5 separate regions of the Homo sapiens genome follow, and regions 2, 3, 4 and 5 are each linked to region 1. The links are contacts of gene promoters, found by promoter capture Hi-C in blood cells and fetal thymus (Javierre and others, 2016). All regions are on one chromosome and are shown on one strand. Each heading gives the region's core, a stretch centred on a gene start or on the middle of the fragment in contact. The rest is flanking DNA. Distances are from core to core; before and after follow the strand shown. Region 1 holds the start of COX18 (cytochrome c oxidase assembly factor COX18). Region 2 holds the start of HNRNPDL (heterogeneous nuclear ribonucleoprotein D like). Region 3 overlaps CENPC (centromere protein C). Region 4 overlaps STAP1 (signal transducing adaptor family member 1). Region 5 overlaps UBA6 (ubiquitin like modifier activating enzyme 6).

Region 1 (3,005 bases), core at 173-2,672:
CAGTCACAACCAAATTCACAATGCATACTTATCCATGTGATCCTGTGCAAGTAACTTAACCTCTAAAATCATGTTCCCTCACATATAAAATATATAACAGCACCTACTTCACAGGGTTACAAATATTAGATAAGAACTGCACCCTGGGCTTTACTGTTCCATCTCTACATTTCCTAGTAACGTAAGCGGAGAAAACAGCAGTTTGTTAAGAACCTTTAATACACTGTGATAGCCACAAATCAAAAGTAAAAATAGCATTTATTCCTGCCCTGTGCTCATTCTTCCTGTAAAATGGCTCACTGCCTTAATGTTGCTGCTGATTCCGTTCCTGTTTTGTTTCCGGTTTTTTTTCCCCATGCTCACAACCTGAAAACAAGAAAGCCACTATTTTTGAAATATCCCATTTGAATAATCAAGCACTTTAACCCGTATTATCTGACTTGCTCTGATAACGCTGTGAAGTAGGCAAGGAAGGTACTGCTAGCCTGATTCCTCAGAAAAAAGGATTCAGCATTAAAAGGTCAAGTAACTGCGACCAACCAGACACAGTCTTAGTCGGGTCTGGAGAGGAAACAAGTTCGCAAACTGTTAGTCTAGTAGTTTCTTCCTAATAAGAAAGACCAGCTGGAATACTTTGGGACGAAAGACACTGCAGACATACTGGCTATTAAAACTTTTAAGACATAAATTTTGTAGGTTTCGCCAACACAATTTCTTCTGCGACTGATTTCTTTGTCTCCGTTCCCCGAGAGCAAGTATAGTAACCACTTGTGCTTGGAGCACAAATCCAGTAAGACAAAAGAAATGACAGGTACACGTGTCACAAAGTATCTTATTTAACACACCTAATGCTAGTTCAATTTTTTTTAACGCTAAAATGGTCACAATGAAATGGTCACGATGATTAAACACTAAGCACTGCAGAAGGCAACATCGTGCGATCGAAAACCCTGAGTGAATGTCGGCCTTCCTCCGCCGCAGGGGTTGCAGCGCAGGGTACGCGCACGGCTCGGCGCCCCTCACCTTGGCCAGGATGTAGTGCTGGTAGGCTGCCAAAGGCAGCGTGACAGCACCCCGTAAGGCCACGGTGGAGAGCAGAATGCTGCCCCACCAGGGCAGGCCCGTGGCGGCGTGCACGCCGAGCAGTACTTCCTCCGCAACCCGCACCGGCGAAGACGCGGCCAGGGCCTCGTACCAGCCGTTCGCATGTACTGCAGAGACTGGTGCCACTGCCCACACTGGGAGAGTGGGGCGCTTGGCGCCGCTCGTAGGAACCGGCGCAAGCGGCAGGTCCCTAGCCCAAAGCTGCAGGGCAGGGAGCGGCCGCAGCCACCGACCGCCGAGCCGGCACAGCATTTCTGCACCACGGCGGAGCCCAGATCCCGGGCCTCACAATCCAGCGGACATACACCGGCCAGCCAAGGCTGATACGCGCACGCGCCAGCAACAGCGGGCATAAAGCGCATGCGCGCCTGCCTGCAGCCGCGATTGACCTTCCCAGTCAAGCCGGTGACGTCTTGCGTCGCAGTGGATGTGACGCAAGAGATAGGAAAGTCCCGCCTTTCCCACGCGGCACTGGACAGGCCTACTGCGCACACGCGAAAGTTTCCCGCTGCTAGGGTGTAGTTAGTCCGAGGCCGGACCAAAACTGCAGAGACATGGGTGGAGCCTGCTGCCCTCCGCCAGGCTGGGTGTTCTTTAGGGAGCTCTCGCCTTGTAAAGTTCATCTACACCGTGTAACTTACCATTCTTTTTCACTAAAGCTAATAGTCATTTGTAGTGGAATTATCCTTGCTCGGTTTTTTGTGACCAGAAGCTGATCCCCAACCTCTTTACGTGCACCTGATTGCTTCCGTTAGCGATTACGATAGATTATCATACTCAAGAGTCACACGTTGCTAAAGTACCTGCTTGTAGAGAGACGCATGTTTCTTGCTGACTCTGAGTGTTAAGCACGAGGGATAGTTCAGTCTCTTGTAGATTTAATTGGCCCATCTGTTCCAGTTAGTATTTGGACCACCAACTGCAAACTGAATTTCTTCGGTGTTTTGTCTTCCATGATAAATAGCAGCAAAAATCTTATAGTAAAAGTATCATCTCTTTATTTAAGGGAAACTATCACTGGCAGTACGGTGAATTCCTTGAGTTTACTTGTATCCTATATAAGCTTTAAAGAGCCTGAACAGCAGCACTGGCTGTCTTCTGGTTTAAAGGAATACGTTGAATCTACATGGACTATATAGTTTTAACTTTTGTGTTCCTGGAAACAACAAAATGGAATGTTGTGGAGGAGTTTCCTCACCGAAGGGTCACCCCTAGACTACAGACTAAAATATGTTGTGAGGAGTAAACCTTGATTTTTATTTATTTATTTATTTACTTACTTAGGAAAAGAAGCCTCCAACAATGTTGGGTAATGTCAAACGCCAGCTATTGTTTGCCCTTCACTGTGCACCTAACCAAGGGTACCCTACGATAACTTTCTCAGGATTCTGGAATTCATCTGCTTTCCAAACTGACTGATAAATCTATACATGAATTTTTAAATGTGTTTAAACACACAGCACAACACACACTATATATAAACTTTTTCTAAAAGAAAAACCTACCAATCTATTTCTTTATCCATTTATTAAGCTAACAAAAAAGCCATCAGTTGCTACTGACTACTGTTCAGCTGTTCATAATCTGAACAGAATTTTAAAGTTATTTTTGCTAGACACAGTGGATCACGCCTGTAATCCCAGCACTTTGGGAGGCCAAGATGGGAGGATACCTTAAGGGCAGAAGTTAGAGATCAGCCTTGGCAACATGGCAAGACCTCATCTCTACAACAAATACAAAAATCATCCAGATGTGGTGGCTTGCATCTGTGGTCTCAGCTACCAGGAGGCTAAGGCGGGAGAATTGCTTGAGCCCCCCGGAGTCCAAGGCTGCAGCGAGCAATGATCGAGCCAGTGCACTCCAGCCTGGGTAGCAACAAGATTCCCATCTCTTTAAAAAAA
Region 2 (3,005 bases), core at 241-2,740, 9.4 Mb after region 1:
CCCTCCCCCCCGGGTCCCACGCGGCGCCTGCGCGCTCGGGACACAGACGCCGCCGCCCTCCTCCTCCAACCCCTCCGCCCTTCCCCCACTCTTCCCGGGTCTCTCCAGTCACCCCCTCGATCTCTTACTTTCCTCTTCCCTCCAATCTAGTGGGGCCCAGAAGGCACGCGGGGAATCGACTCTGAGAAAGAATGGGGGCAGCGCGCGGCTCACGAGGAACGAAGGGCGCGTGCGGCGCGCTGGGGGAGGGGGAGCGGGGGAAGAAGCGTGCGGTACCCGTCATCCTGCTGATTCTTGCTCGCGTTGATCTTGGATCCCTCTGCGAATTCCTCTATATTGCTGTACTCGTTCATATCCTCCATAGTGACGGAGCTGTCGGCAGGGGGGTGCTGGCGCGCAGTCCGGGTCGCGGCAGCAGCGGCGGCGGAGCGTTGTATGGAGCTGGATTTAAAATGGCGGCGGAAGAGATCCGGGCGCCGCCTGCGCCCTCCCTTTATAGCCGCCCCGCCCGCCAATCGGGAGGGCTGCTGGGCGGTGACGTGGCGCTGGGCCCGGCGCGCCCCCTGCCGGGCGGAGCTGGGAGCGAGCGAAGGGAGGAGCGGGGCTAGCTGCCGCGGCGGCCGCGGCCGCCAATGGGAGAGGCTGCGGGAGGCTAAAGTAGCGGGAGCGGAGGGGAACAATGGCGGCGGCACATGGGAAAGCCTGGGCGGGACCTCCATCGCGGCCCTCCCGGCAAGGAGAGAGGCCACGCGTGAGGGGACGCGGGCTTGGGAGAAGAGAAGAATCAGAAGAGAAAAACGAAGGGGCGTAAATTCCTGGGGTCAGCAGTCCCGAGCAGAGCCGACGCAGGGCCACAGTCCCTCTTGCCTTGGGAGCCTTTGTCTCTGGCGTCCGGTCCAGCCCACTCCTACCAAAAAGCCGTCAACCCCGCCTTTTTCTGCCCTCGGTTCGCCAGTGCGGAGCCGCTGCGGCGGCCGCTGCTACCGACTAGCACCGCGGCCAGTCTGCTCCGGAAAAAGGCGGACTGCGCCCGGCGCTGGCGACTGAGGCGGCGAGCGCGCTCGCCCGCCGCGCGCACGCGTGTTTTGTCCTCGAGCTGGCAGGAACCAGCCGAACAGGAAGCGGGCGCGCGACGGCTCCTCCGGGCAGCGCAGCGCGGGCGCCTCTTCCACTGTGACCACGGGCGCGCGGGCCAAGGGGGCGCGGCGGGGCCTCCCGGGCTGATCGGCCGAAGCCCGGGCCCCGCGCGGCCTCTGGCGGGCTGACGCCGGGAGGAGGGGCGGGGGCTGGCCAGATGACTGTATCTATGCAAAGGCGGAGGCGGTGGGCGGGGAGGGGGCTGGATTCAGTAGAGGGCAAGGGGCACTCACATCCCCGGCGCGCCACTCGCGGGGCTCCTTTCTGCACGTGCCCCGGGCCTCTCCCGCTCGCTCAACCTGTCTGCGGAGGGCGCGCTCTCGCGCACCCTGCTCCCGCGTTCGCTTCTTTGTTCCCGCCCACGCGAGGCCCATTTTGACGGATCCAGTTCGAGGCCTGACGGCGGCCAATCGGCGCTGGCGCCTTCACCCTCCCCGCCCCGCCGAACCCGTCAAGGGCCGCCCCTTTTCCTGCCCACGTGGTCTCGGGCTCCTGCCCCGTCCTGCTCACGAGTTCAGGGCTCCTGGGCGGCCGCCTTTTCCAGTTCCAGGTGTGCAGAAGTGTCCTCTCCCCACGCGCGGCGGGCTGCACTTGGTCGCTGGCTCCGAGATCGCGCGGGGCCGCCGGAAGCCCAAGACGGTACCGGGGGCCGCAGCCGCAGCCGGCGCCGCCCTCCGCCCTCCCCAACAGCAGGCCGAGTCCCGTAGCATCCGGTAGGGAAATGGTCGTGCTTTCGGTCCCCGCCGAAGTCACCGTGATCCTGTTAGATATCGAAGGTACCACAACCCCGATTGCTTTCGTGAAGGTGAGGGGCGGAAGGGAGCGGGGATGTTACTTTTCCTTAAAAACAGTTATTATTTTTTCTAAGTATTTCAGGCCTTGCATTGGAGACGAGGGTTAGGAGAGGCGGTGTGGCTGCCTCTTGTGTGGAATGGGGAGGAAGGAGAGAAAGCCTGCGGTGGGTTGCGGGGATGCTTTTCCTCGCGACACTAGCTTCTCCCTCCCCCGCCCTTGCGCTTGGTTGGATCCAGATGGGTGGGAAGGGATGGAAGTTGACGCTAAAAATCACCGAAGGGCAGGTAAGCCGGGGCGGGGTGTGACGGTGCGGGCCTCGCCACCCGGCAGGTGTGCACCCGGTCGCTTCCGCAGGTGAGCGCAGCCTTTCTGCTCCGTCGGGCCTGGTGTGGCAGCGGCAGCGATTTAATGGTCCTTAAAGCTTCCGATCTCAAAATGGAAAGACTGAAGTGTCAAGATGACTTTTCAGGTGGCCCTGGTGTCGGGCAATCAAGGTTCCTCTTCGCCCCTTCCCACTCTTGCTGTTAGTGGCCAAACTGCACAGTGTATTATTTTACTCTGTTAGGCGCTGTGGTCCATAGCGCTGATTTTTTGAGCTATAGGACACGTCTAGATTCCGTTCACTTTCCTCAGAAAACCACAGAAGCTTGAAGCTCTTATCCAGAGCATTCCTTCTAGGATGTCACTGTGAACCAGCACTTGTCTGCACCTCAGCTTGCAACTTAGCGGATTCCTTCTTTATTCTTTGTCTGTTAGAATAAGCAAATATGAAATGTTACTTTAATTTTTGAAAGAATTCCTCGGGCCTTGTCTTTTTATTTGGCTCCCTGAGGTTTAAGAATTCATTGCAGATACAAGTACTTCTTAGAGGTGCTTGCATGCACAATAATAGTCGAGATATACAAAGTATATTACCAAGTAGGAAAAATCCATCTTCCAAGAAACTGAGCAGCTTGGGTTTTAAATTCTATTTTAGTTTCCATTTTTAAAAAAAATTATCTGTGAATAAGGCTTTTTTTTTTTTTTCTTTGAGAGTCTCACTCTGTTCCCAGGCTGGAGTGGAGTGGAGTGGT
Region 3 (3,005 bases), core at 311-2,810, 5.5 Mb before region 1:
TGTAAATAGAATCATACAACATGTATCCTCTTGCCTTGGCTTTTTTCACTCAACACAATTCTATGGAAATAAATCCAAGTTGAATGTACCAATATTTCATTGCTTTTTAGAGTCAAGTAATGTTCCATGCTATGTGTGTACCACAGTGTTTAACCATTTACCTGTTGAAGAACATCTGGATTTCAATCAGTATAAAATTGACATGCATCTCTAACAGAGTGGACAAACTTTTGCTTAAAGGGCCAGATGGTAAATATTTTAGGCTTGTAAACCATAGTCTCTGTCACAACCAGTCGACTCTCCCATTCTAGCCCAAAAGCAACCACAGACAGTATGTAAACAAAGAGGCATGGCTGTGTTCCAATAAAATTGAAATAAAACCTGTGACAAAACATTTGGCTGGCCTATCAGCCAGAGTTTACTGATCCCTGATCTACAACATTCCTATTATTGAGAGCTGGAAAAGTACTATATATGCAGTAATTAAAAACTGTGAGCCACAGTGCATTATCAGGTCATCCATCATAAAGTTTTATAACTGAAAGATCTCAGAAATCATCCAGTCCAATAATCATCATCCAAATAGATGTGTAAAGTTACTTTTGGAGCTTTGCAGAAATACACTTAATTGGTCACTTCCCACAAACCAATTTAATTAGATTTCCTAGGGTGATGGAGGTAATTCTGATGTGCAAATCTAGTTAAAAACCCCTAGCTGAATCCTATGCCCTCATTTTGCAGATAGGCAAACTGAAACCCAAAATGGTCAAATGGCCTACCTCAGTTTGTAAACCTAAGTAGTATTAGTGGCCGGTTTTCTACCAGAATATATATAGGTGACTATTATAAATTCTGGCCTTGACATCACCCCAAAATACCACCTACAGGTGCACATATTGCACAGCTATAAATACACTCCTGCTATTACCTGTTTCAAGGATGAGATCCAAAAAGATCAGATTTGCCAAGGTGATAATGCAGAGTCACTATTAGAACGCAGGTCACATTAGGCAACAGCTTTTTCAAAATTTATCAAATTCGTCTTTTCTTCCCCTTTGTCATTATTACCTTAGCATAAAAGCACCTCCACCATGTGTAGATTACTACAACACCCTCCTTAAGCTACTTTGTAAACATCAAACATCTTTGCTTTTTTAAATGTGTGTGTGTGTTTATATCAGATAGCCCTTATTCCACAGAAGATTTAGGAGAGCTTATTCAAGCCTATAATAGATGCCTAAAGCCTAACATATCCATTTTATGGCTCAATCCAACTCATATGGTCTTGTTTTCCACTTCTACCCAACATATTCAACCTTCTTAAATCAGGTCTCTCTGCTACTGACAAATATATGTATTCCTACTTTGGTTCCTTCGTTAAGTTACTTTCTATGTCTGGAATATACTTTATCTTAGTCTTTAAATACCTGTTCAAGGTCCACCAAAGTTACACTACAACTTTAAAGCTTTTCTTAATATCAACAACACACAAATCCCTAATTTCTCACATGGCTGTCTATACTGCAAGTTAATGCCTAATTATATATAGGCCTACTCTCTATGATACACAAGTCATTACTTCAGTATTGCAAGTAATAATTTTTGTCCATTAAATTGTTTCACAAATGTACATATACATTTTCCCAACAGAAATCTAAGCTTCTTGTAAACAAAAGAACATACTTCTGTGCCCCATTGGACCTACTAAAATCACAGCTCAATAAACATGACGTTATTCATAATAACATCTTCACTTTTAAAAACATGCTTTTCATCCTATTACTAGTAAATATTTAACTAGAAAATTTACTTTTTACAGGTTTTACAACTAAAAGAAGAACCAAAACAACCCAAACAAGCACTCAACAAATGCACGACAGCATGTACTATTTTTCTTTTTGCCCCACTGAATAAGCTACATCTTTCTAATTTTACCATTTGATTCATTCTACAAAATGCTTTTCCCATGGCAGTCACTTAGTCAGAACTGAGACTCCCTCTTCCTGGTTCCACTATTTTATCAGGTGAATTTCTTTTTTCACAGCCACAAAGTCATTGCACTGCTTGCATTAACATTCCCGTTAGTATAAGATGACTACCCTTAATCAGTGGGCACAGAAATCATTATATTAGTCAGAGGTGATAGTTTTTCCTTTCTTCATTTAAAAATCTATTAACGATGAGAATAAAAATAATCTTAAAAGCTTAAGTACGTAAATCACCTGGAAGGTCGACAAAATCTTCTTCTGTAGCCATTTTTGAGATGATCCTGAAAGAAAAGTAAATCATCAATTTGGTTTCTTTAAGATAGAGTCGAGTAAAATTTATTTTCAAAGTAACTTCATCCAGTATGGGCATGCTATACACCAAACATCTCCTAAGGGCTCAAAACAATTTTGAGGTTATGTTATGACATAACATAGGTTATGACAGGCATTTAAAAACTGAACTGCAGGCATCTGGTAAGCTTTATTCCGCTTCTCTCCCCACAGTGAGAATGGCTTTATTGCTTTCTTCTGATTATATATAATGTAAACAATATATGTGCTCATAGTAAAAAGTATAGATTATATTATTCTTTCATACAACTCTTTATGTTTATATGTATAACGTCACATAATGGGAGATCATCGAAGCTGAAGATTTTCTTAGAAGGGGAGATAAATTAGAAAAGAAATGATACGGATTTTTATATAGTAACCATAACCAAAGTATGAAATATAGAATAGTGAACACCAAAGAAGTCCAGAAATATGTAAACAAAATGAGTTGTCGCCCCCATTAGTCATTCACAGCTTGTACCTTTTAACTGATAGCTGTCTTTCAGAAGAGTTTGTCAATAACATATGCTCCATAAATCAGCCTCAAGAACTGCATAAAAGGCCACCATTTTGACAGAAGAACTGAAAACGTCAAATTATTTCGAGACGTACTTGTTACATAATCTGTTTCTCCCAACTACCAAGTGTGACGCAAAGACACACTTTTAAGGCGTTTCAATACTT
Region 4 (3,005 bases), core at 215-2,714, 5.5 Mb before region 1:
CTAATGGAGAGAGTAACTGTGAATTGACATACTGCAAAAGTAAGTTTTCTAACATTTAATTTTTTTGAGTAAATTTGTACATGTTCATTTGTTTTAAGTAAGCAAACAGATTACAGCTGTATGTCTTCTGACAAAAGAAAATAGTATTGAAATATTTCATAAAAAATACACATTAGTAGTTCTAAGCCAAAAAAAGAAAATGAATTATTTTTTAGGCTCAGTCATAATTATTTATTTTATGCTCAATCACTCATGTATTTCCTTCTTTGGCTTTATCTGTTTTTGTCTTCAACTTTAGACAGAGAACACAGAAAGTGGGGAAGAATGGAGAGGCTTCATTCTTACAGTAACAGAGGTAGGAAGCTCACTGCTTTTGATTGATTCTTTTTTTTTTTCAACAAATATCTGCTGAACACCCTATGATCCATGCAGAGTGAAAGTGGCTGAAGATATAGCAATTGAAAAAGATAGACCTAAACTCTTGCACTTACTTATGAACATTATATTTTCATCAGGTGGTGGAGAGGGAGAAAGTAAACAAGTAAACAGATGATCATTTCACATTGTGACAATTGTTATGAAGAAAATAAACAAGGCAATTCGCTAGGGAGTAACGGGTGGTAAAGGAGATCTACTTTTTGGTCTTATCTGTTTGACTCAGTGGTCCTTTGTATATTCTGATATTTGTAGCTAATACAGCATGTTTGAAAATACATTCCAATTTCTTTTCTTTTCTTTCTTTCTTTCTTTTTTTTTTTTTTTTGAGATGAGGTCTCACTATGTCACCCAGGCTGGAGTGCAGTGGCATAATTTGGCTCACTGCAACCTCCACCTCCAGAGTTCAAGTGATTCTCCTGCTTCAGCCTCTCAAGTAGCTGGGATTACAGGCATGCACCATCATGCCCAGCTAATTTCTGTATTTTTAGTAGAGATGAGGTTTCATCATGTTGGCCAGGCTGGTTTGGAACTCCTGGCCTCAAGTGATCTGCCGGCCTCGGCCTCCGAAAGTGCTGGGATTACAGGTGTGAGCCACTGTGCCCGGCCTCTGATTTCTTTTTTATTTATTTAATACATATTTATAGAATACTAGCCAAGATGAATTTTATAAATAACATAGACAATGTAACAGGGAGAGACCATAAAAATGAAAACTCACCTTTAAACATTTCTTCAGTGAGTCTTAAAACAACAGGATGCTTATCTGTTCAACTCTGTGGTGTTTTATCAGAGGCAAATAGTAAGATCTACTGCTTAGAGTTAACTCTTGCAGTAAGATAATGTCCATTATTTTAGATAAAGCCACTGTAGCAATTGCCTTGGAAACATGACGTTCTTTGATAACCAGCCTCCCAAGGAGCACCATGTTCTCTAGTAATTTAAAAGGATATAAAAACTGTGTTTATTAGAGTCAGTTAAACACAGATTCTATCCAAAGCTAGTTTCTAAGTAAGCCATTGCAGTCATCTGAAATAAGCACTGCACTTTACCAAGTTGATGGATGCAGGTTCTTTATTTCAGCCAGTAACAGGTAAAAGTTAGAGGTTCAACTATTGTGTAGGGAAGTTATATGAGGCTAGAAAAGCGGACCAGTTAAAGATGTGAAGAACATGTTGACTTCTGAGAGGGAGAGGAAGGAATCCTGGGGAATTGCACTCTTTCCCTCTGTTGTGGAAAATATCTCTGAGTGGTATGGTGCTTCCAATACCGGGTATAACTATCCCAAAGGTATGTGACTAAGTATCAAGGAGTACACTAAAAACTCTGGCAAAAACTTTTTGCATCCCCCCGGTACACTAAGTATGTATAAAGTTTTGGCCAAACATTTTGTTTTTAGTTTCTTTCCTGGAGTAAAAATAAAAAGCATTATTTTTATATTAAAATACACACATAAATAAGTAACAGAATATAAAATCAAATTTATGTGAATTTTTTTTTTTTTTTTGAGACAGAGTCTCACTCTATCACCCAGGCTGGAGTGCAGTGGTGCAATCTTGGCTCACTGCAACCTCCACCTCCTGCGTTCAAGCAATTCTCCTGCCTTAGCCTCCCAAGTAGCTGGGATTAAAGGCACGTACCATCATGCCCGGCTAAGTTTTTTAAAAAATATTTTTAGTAGAGGTGGGGTTTCACCATGTTGGCCATGCTGGTCTCAAACTCCTGACCTCAAGTGATCCTCCCACCTCAAGTGATCCTCCCACCTCGGCCTCCCAAAGTGCTGGGATTACAGGTGTGAGCCACCACGCCCAGCCCATGTGAATTTTTAAGAGAAGACAAGTTGCCTCAAATTGTGTATTCTGTAAATGTTGTTTTGTGTTATGATTCCAGATCATGGTATATGAACATTTACAGTATGTTGTTATTAGGATGACTTTAGTAGAGAAGTGAGAGAAGCTCAGACTGTATGTAGTTGAAAGAGCTGAGACATTGCTTTTGAATCAAATAAACCCCAGTTTGGGTCCTGGTTCCATAACTTACTAGCTATTTGACTCTGGACTAGCTATTTAATCTTTCTGTGCTTGATTTTTTTTTCTATTTGTATTAGGCCATTCTTGCATTGCTATAAAGAAATACCTAAGACTGGGTAATTTGTAAAGAAAAGAGGTTTAATTGGCTCCTGGTTCTGCAGGCTGTACAGGAAGCATGGTGCCAGCATCTGCTCAGCTTCTGGGAAGGGCCTCAAGGAGCTTTTACTCATGGCAGAAGGTGAAGGGGGAACAGACATATCACATGGTGAGAGTAGGAAAGAGAAAGAGTGGGGAAGAGGGACCACACACTTTTAAATGACTAGATCTCACAAGAATTCACCCACTAACATGAGAAAAGCACCAAGCCATGAGAGATTCATCCCCATGACCCAAACACCTCCCACCAGGCCCCACCTCCAACACTGGGGCTAATTTAACATGAGCTTTGGTGGGAACACATATCCAAACTATGTCACCATTTGTAAATTGGGGATAACAATACCATTTTTTTTTTGAGATGGAGTCTTGCTCTGTCACCCA
Region 5 (3,005 bases), core at 371-2,870, 5.4 Mb before region 1:
GAAGGTAAAGGATATAAAGCTGTAGAATTCTTTTTTTTCCATAGGTTACTGGGGTACACAGGTGGTGTTTGGTTACTTAAGTTCTTTAGTGGTGATTTGTGCGATTTTGGTGCACCCATCACCCAAGCAGTAAAGCTGTAGAATTTAATGCCAGCAAAGGATAGTTTGATAACTTTAGAAAGAGGTTTGTCTTAAAAAAAAGTCAGACACAACATGAGAAGCAGCTTCTGCCGATCAAGAGGCAGCAATGAGTTTCTAGACGCCATAAGGAAAATCACTGAAGAGAAAGGATATCTACCTGAATAGGTTTTTAATGTAGAAGAAAGTGCTCTATTTTGAAAAAAATTGCCACAAAGGACATTTATTAGTAAGGAAGAGAAGCAAGCACCAGGATTTAAGGCAGAAATGGATAGTTAACTCTACTGTTTTCTGCAAATGCTTTCAGGTTTATGATCAGGACTGCCCTTACATATAAAGCTGCTAACCCCTGAGCATTGGAGGGAAAAGATAAACACCAGCGGCCAGTCCTCCGGCTACATAACAAGCAGGCCTGGACAAGAACCCTTTTTCTGGATTGGTTCCATTGATGCTTTGATTCTGAGGTCAGGAAGTACCTTGCCAGCAAGAACTTTTAAAGTTCTTTTGCTATTGGACAATACACCTGGCCACCCAGAACCCCAAAGTTCAACAATGAAGGTGCTGAAGTGGTTTACTTGCTTCAAAACACAACATCTCAAATTCAGCTTCTAGATCAGGGCATCATAAAGGACCTTTAAGGCTCATTACACAAGGTACTCTATAGAAAGGATTGTCAATGCTATGGAAGAGAACCCCAAGAAAGAGAACATCATTAAAGTCTGGAAGATTATACCATTGAAGATGCTATCGTTGTTACTGACATCAGACAATCTGGCAGAAGGGTTCCGACGATTCAAGATTGCATTGATTTCTTTAATGACATGGACCCTTCTACAACAGGGGCACCAAAAAGAAACTAAAGAAAATGACAGGAGGATCAGTATTGTATAGAAACATTTTTCCAGAAATGAGAAAGCAAAAAAAGTCACATAGTAGTTACATATTTCCATAGTTACACTGTGTGTGCCTGCCTCTCTTTCCCTACCCTTCTGCCTCCACCTCTTTTGATTCTGCCACCCCTAAGACAACAAAACCAACTCCTCCCCTTCCTCCTCCTCAGCCTACTCAACATGAAGACAACAAAGATGAAGACCTTTATGATAATCCAGTTCCATCTAATGAACAATAAATATATTTTCTCTTTCTTACATGATTTTCTTAACATTTTATTTTCTCTAGCTTACTTTATTCTAAGAATACTGTGTATATATATATATACAGTATATAATACATATAATATTAAAAATGTGTGTTAATTGATTATTTACATTATCAGTAAAATTTCCAGTCAATAGTAAGGCTATTAGCATTTAAGCTTTGGGAGAGTCAAAAGTCATATGTGGATTTTCGACTGCACAAGAGGTAGGGTGGTAGGGGAGTTGGCACTCCTAACTCCTTCATTGTTCAAGTGTCAACTATACTATACTACACACTTAAAAACTTGTTAGTAGGGTAGAGTTCATGTTATGTGTTTTTACTACAATAATAACTTTTTAGAAGGTAAGTTGGAGTTATGTTCAAAATAACTCGGTAAGCTATAGTATTTGGACTTGTACTATGAGACAAAATGGTCGGAACTGTGGCTGTGTGAAAGAGAACGGAGAGAAAAGAGAACTTCTGGAATTTATCTTTATCTTACCCTACCTTCATCAAGCTTACTGATGAAATCTATCTCCCTGAGATATTAAGAGGCTAAGGATCCTCATTTCATGCCTTGTCCCTAAAATAAATCATTGTCCAAAGTCCTAGGTCTTATACTAGTCCCCATAAGCAACAGATACAGATTTTTAAAAAGAGAAAATACAGCTGGGCACGGTGGCTCGCGCCTGTAATCCCAGCACTTTGGGAAGCCAAGGTGGGCAGATCATGAGGTCAAGAGACTGAGATCATCCTGGCCAACATGGTGAAACCCCGCCTCTACTAAAAAAAATACAAAAATTAGCTGGGTGTGGTGGTGCATGCCTGTAGTCCCAGCTACTCAGGAGGCTGAGGCAGGAGAATTGCTTGAACCCAAGAGGCGGAGGTTGCCATGAGCCGAGATCGCGCCACTGCACTCCAGCCTGGATGACAGAGCAAGACTCCATCTCAAAAAAAAAAAAAAAAAAAAAAAAAAAAAGAAAAAATACAAAACTACCAAATCTTCAGATTCAGTCACTATAAAAAAAAAAACCCTCAAACATTTAAGTTAATTTTTAAAATCTAAGAAAATAAGAGCTGGTTATTGTGTGAAAATCTCACATTTTGGCATTTTGGTCTTTGTATTTCTTTTTTTTTTTTTCTTGACATGGAGTTTTGCTCTGTAGCCCAGGCTGGAACACAGTGGTGCCATCTCAGCTCACTGCAAGCTCTGCCTCCCCGGTTCATGCCATTCTCCTGCCTCAGCCTCCCGACTAGCTGGGATTACAGGCGCCCGCCACCGCCACCACACCCGGCTAATTTTTTGTATTTTTAGTAGAGACGGGGTTTCACTGTGTTAGCCAGGATGGTCTCGATCTCCTGACCTCGTGATCCACCCGCCTCGGCCTCCCAAAGTGCTGGGATTACAGGCATGAGCCACTGTGCCTGGCCACATCTTTGTATTTCTACTAAGAAAACCTATATGTAGTCAGTAACTCTTTTAGTATTCCCTAATAATTCACTCTTTTAGTACCCACATAAATTTCTGGCTTCCTGCCCTCACTATGACAAATTCTTAAGGAAGATATTAAAACTCAAATATGCACATTGGTAAACAACTAGATGTTTGCAATAAGACACGCATACCAAGTGCTAACAGCTACACCAAAAGATACTCTCCGTCAAACAAAAGAAAATGGCTTACCTCTAATAATAACAGCTAAACTGCTATATTCTATAACTCTCAGTAA

What was found. The method cuts DNA at HindIII sites, captures the fragments that hold promoters and counts their contacts. A CHiCAGO score of 5 or more calls a contact.
Region 2: a contact is called between the fragment with the promoter of HNRNPDL here and the fragment with the promoter of COX18 in region 1, in 4 of 17 cell types (total B cells, non-activated CD4 T cells, total CD4 T cells and 1 more). The highest score is 11.6, in total B cells.
Region 3: a fragment that was not itself captured here is called in contact with the fragment with the promoter of COX18 in region 1 in 2 of 17 cell types (total CD4 T cells and total B cells); the score reaches 6.0 in total CD4 T cells.
Region 4: a fragment that was not itself captured here is called in contact with the fragment with the promoter of COX18 in region 1 in 1 of 17 cell types (total B cells); the score reaches 6.1 in total B cells.
Region 5: a contact is called between a fragment that was not itself captured here and the fragment with the promoter of COX18 in region 1, in 1 of 17 cell types (total CD8 T cells). The highest score is 7.4, in total CD8 T cells.

What each region holds. Positions count from the first base shown.
Region 1 is chr4:73,068,294-73,071,298 of GRCh38, forward strand. It overlaps COX18 (cytochrome c oxidase assembly factor COX18), which reads right to left and starts at 1,423. Exons shown (of 6, transcript NM_001297732.2): 1 at 1,024-1,423. The coding sequence starts at 1,356. LOC112268467 (a long non-coding RNA gene) reads left to right here and starts at 1,653. Exons shown (of 2, transcript XR_002959797.2): 1 at 1,653-1,736. RefSeq lists enhancers at 742-1,257, 1,192-1,711, 1,258-1,774. The HindIII fragment of the contact is 3,732 bases long and covers 1-2,165 here.
Region 2 is chr4:82,428,972-82,431,976 of GRCh38, forward strand. It overlaps HNRNPDL (heterogeneous nuclear ribonucleoprotein D like), which reads right to left and starts at 1,491. Exons shown (of 8, transcript NM_031372.4): 1 at 277-1,491. The coding sequence starts at 719. It overlaps ENOPH1 (enolase-phosphatase 1), which reads left to right and starts at 1,619. Exons shown (of 6, transcript NM_021204.5): 1 at 1,619-1,942. The coding sequence starts at 1,859. RefSeq lists silencers at 1-109, 420-659, 1,030-1,429, 1,550-1,869 and enhancers at 155-950, 330-389, 710-799, 951-1,746, 2,110-2,209. The HindIII fragment of the contact is 3,206 bases long and covers 1-2,351 here.
Region 3 is chr4:67,541,927-67,544,931 of GRCh38, forward strand. CENPC (centromere protein C) reads right to left here. Exons shown (of 19, transcript NM_001812.4): 2 at 2,223-2,269. Among named protein-coding and RNA genes, the nearest start is that of CENPC, 2.1 kb to the right of the region's middle. The HindIII fragment of the contact is 193 bases long and covers 1,465-1,657 here.
Region 4 is chr4:67,576,905-67,579,909 of GRCh38, forward strand. STAP1 (signal transducing adaptor family member 1) reads left to right here. Exons shown (of 9, transcript NM_012108.4): 4 at 299-355. Among named protein-coding and RNA genes, the nearest start is that of STAP1, 20 kb to the left of the region's middle. The HindIII fragment of the contact is 7,040 bases long and covers 1-3,005 here.
Region 5 is chr4:67,691,991-67,694,995 of GRCh38, forward strand. The region is part of intron 2 of UBA6 (ubiquitin like modifier activating enzyme 6); the gene reads right to left. Among named protein-coding and RNA genes, the nearest start is that of UBA6, 7.7 kb to the right of the region's middle. The HindIII fragment of the contact is 339 bases long and covers 1,452-1,790 here.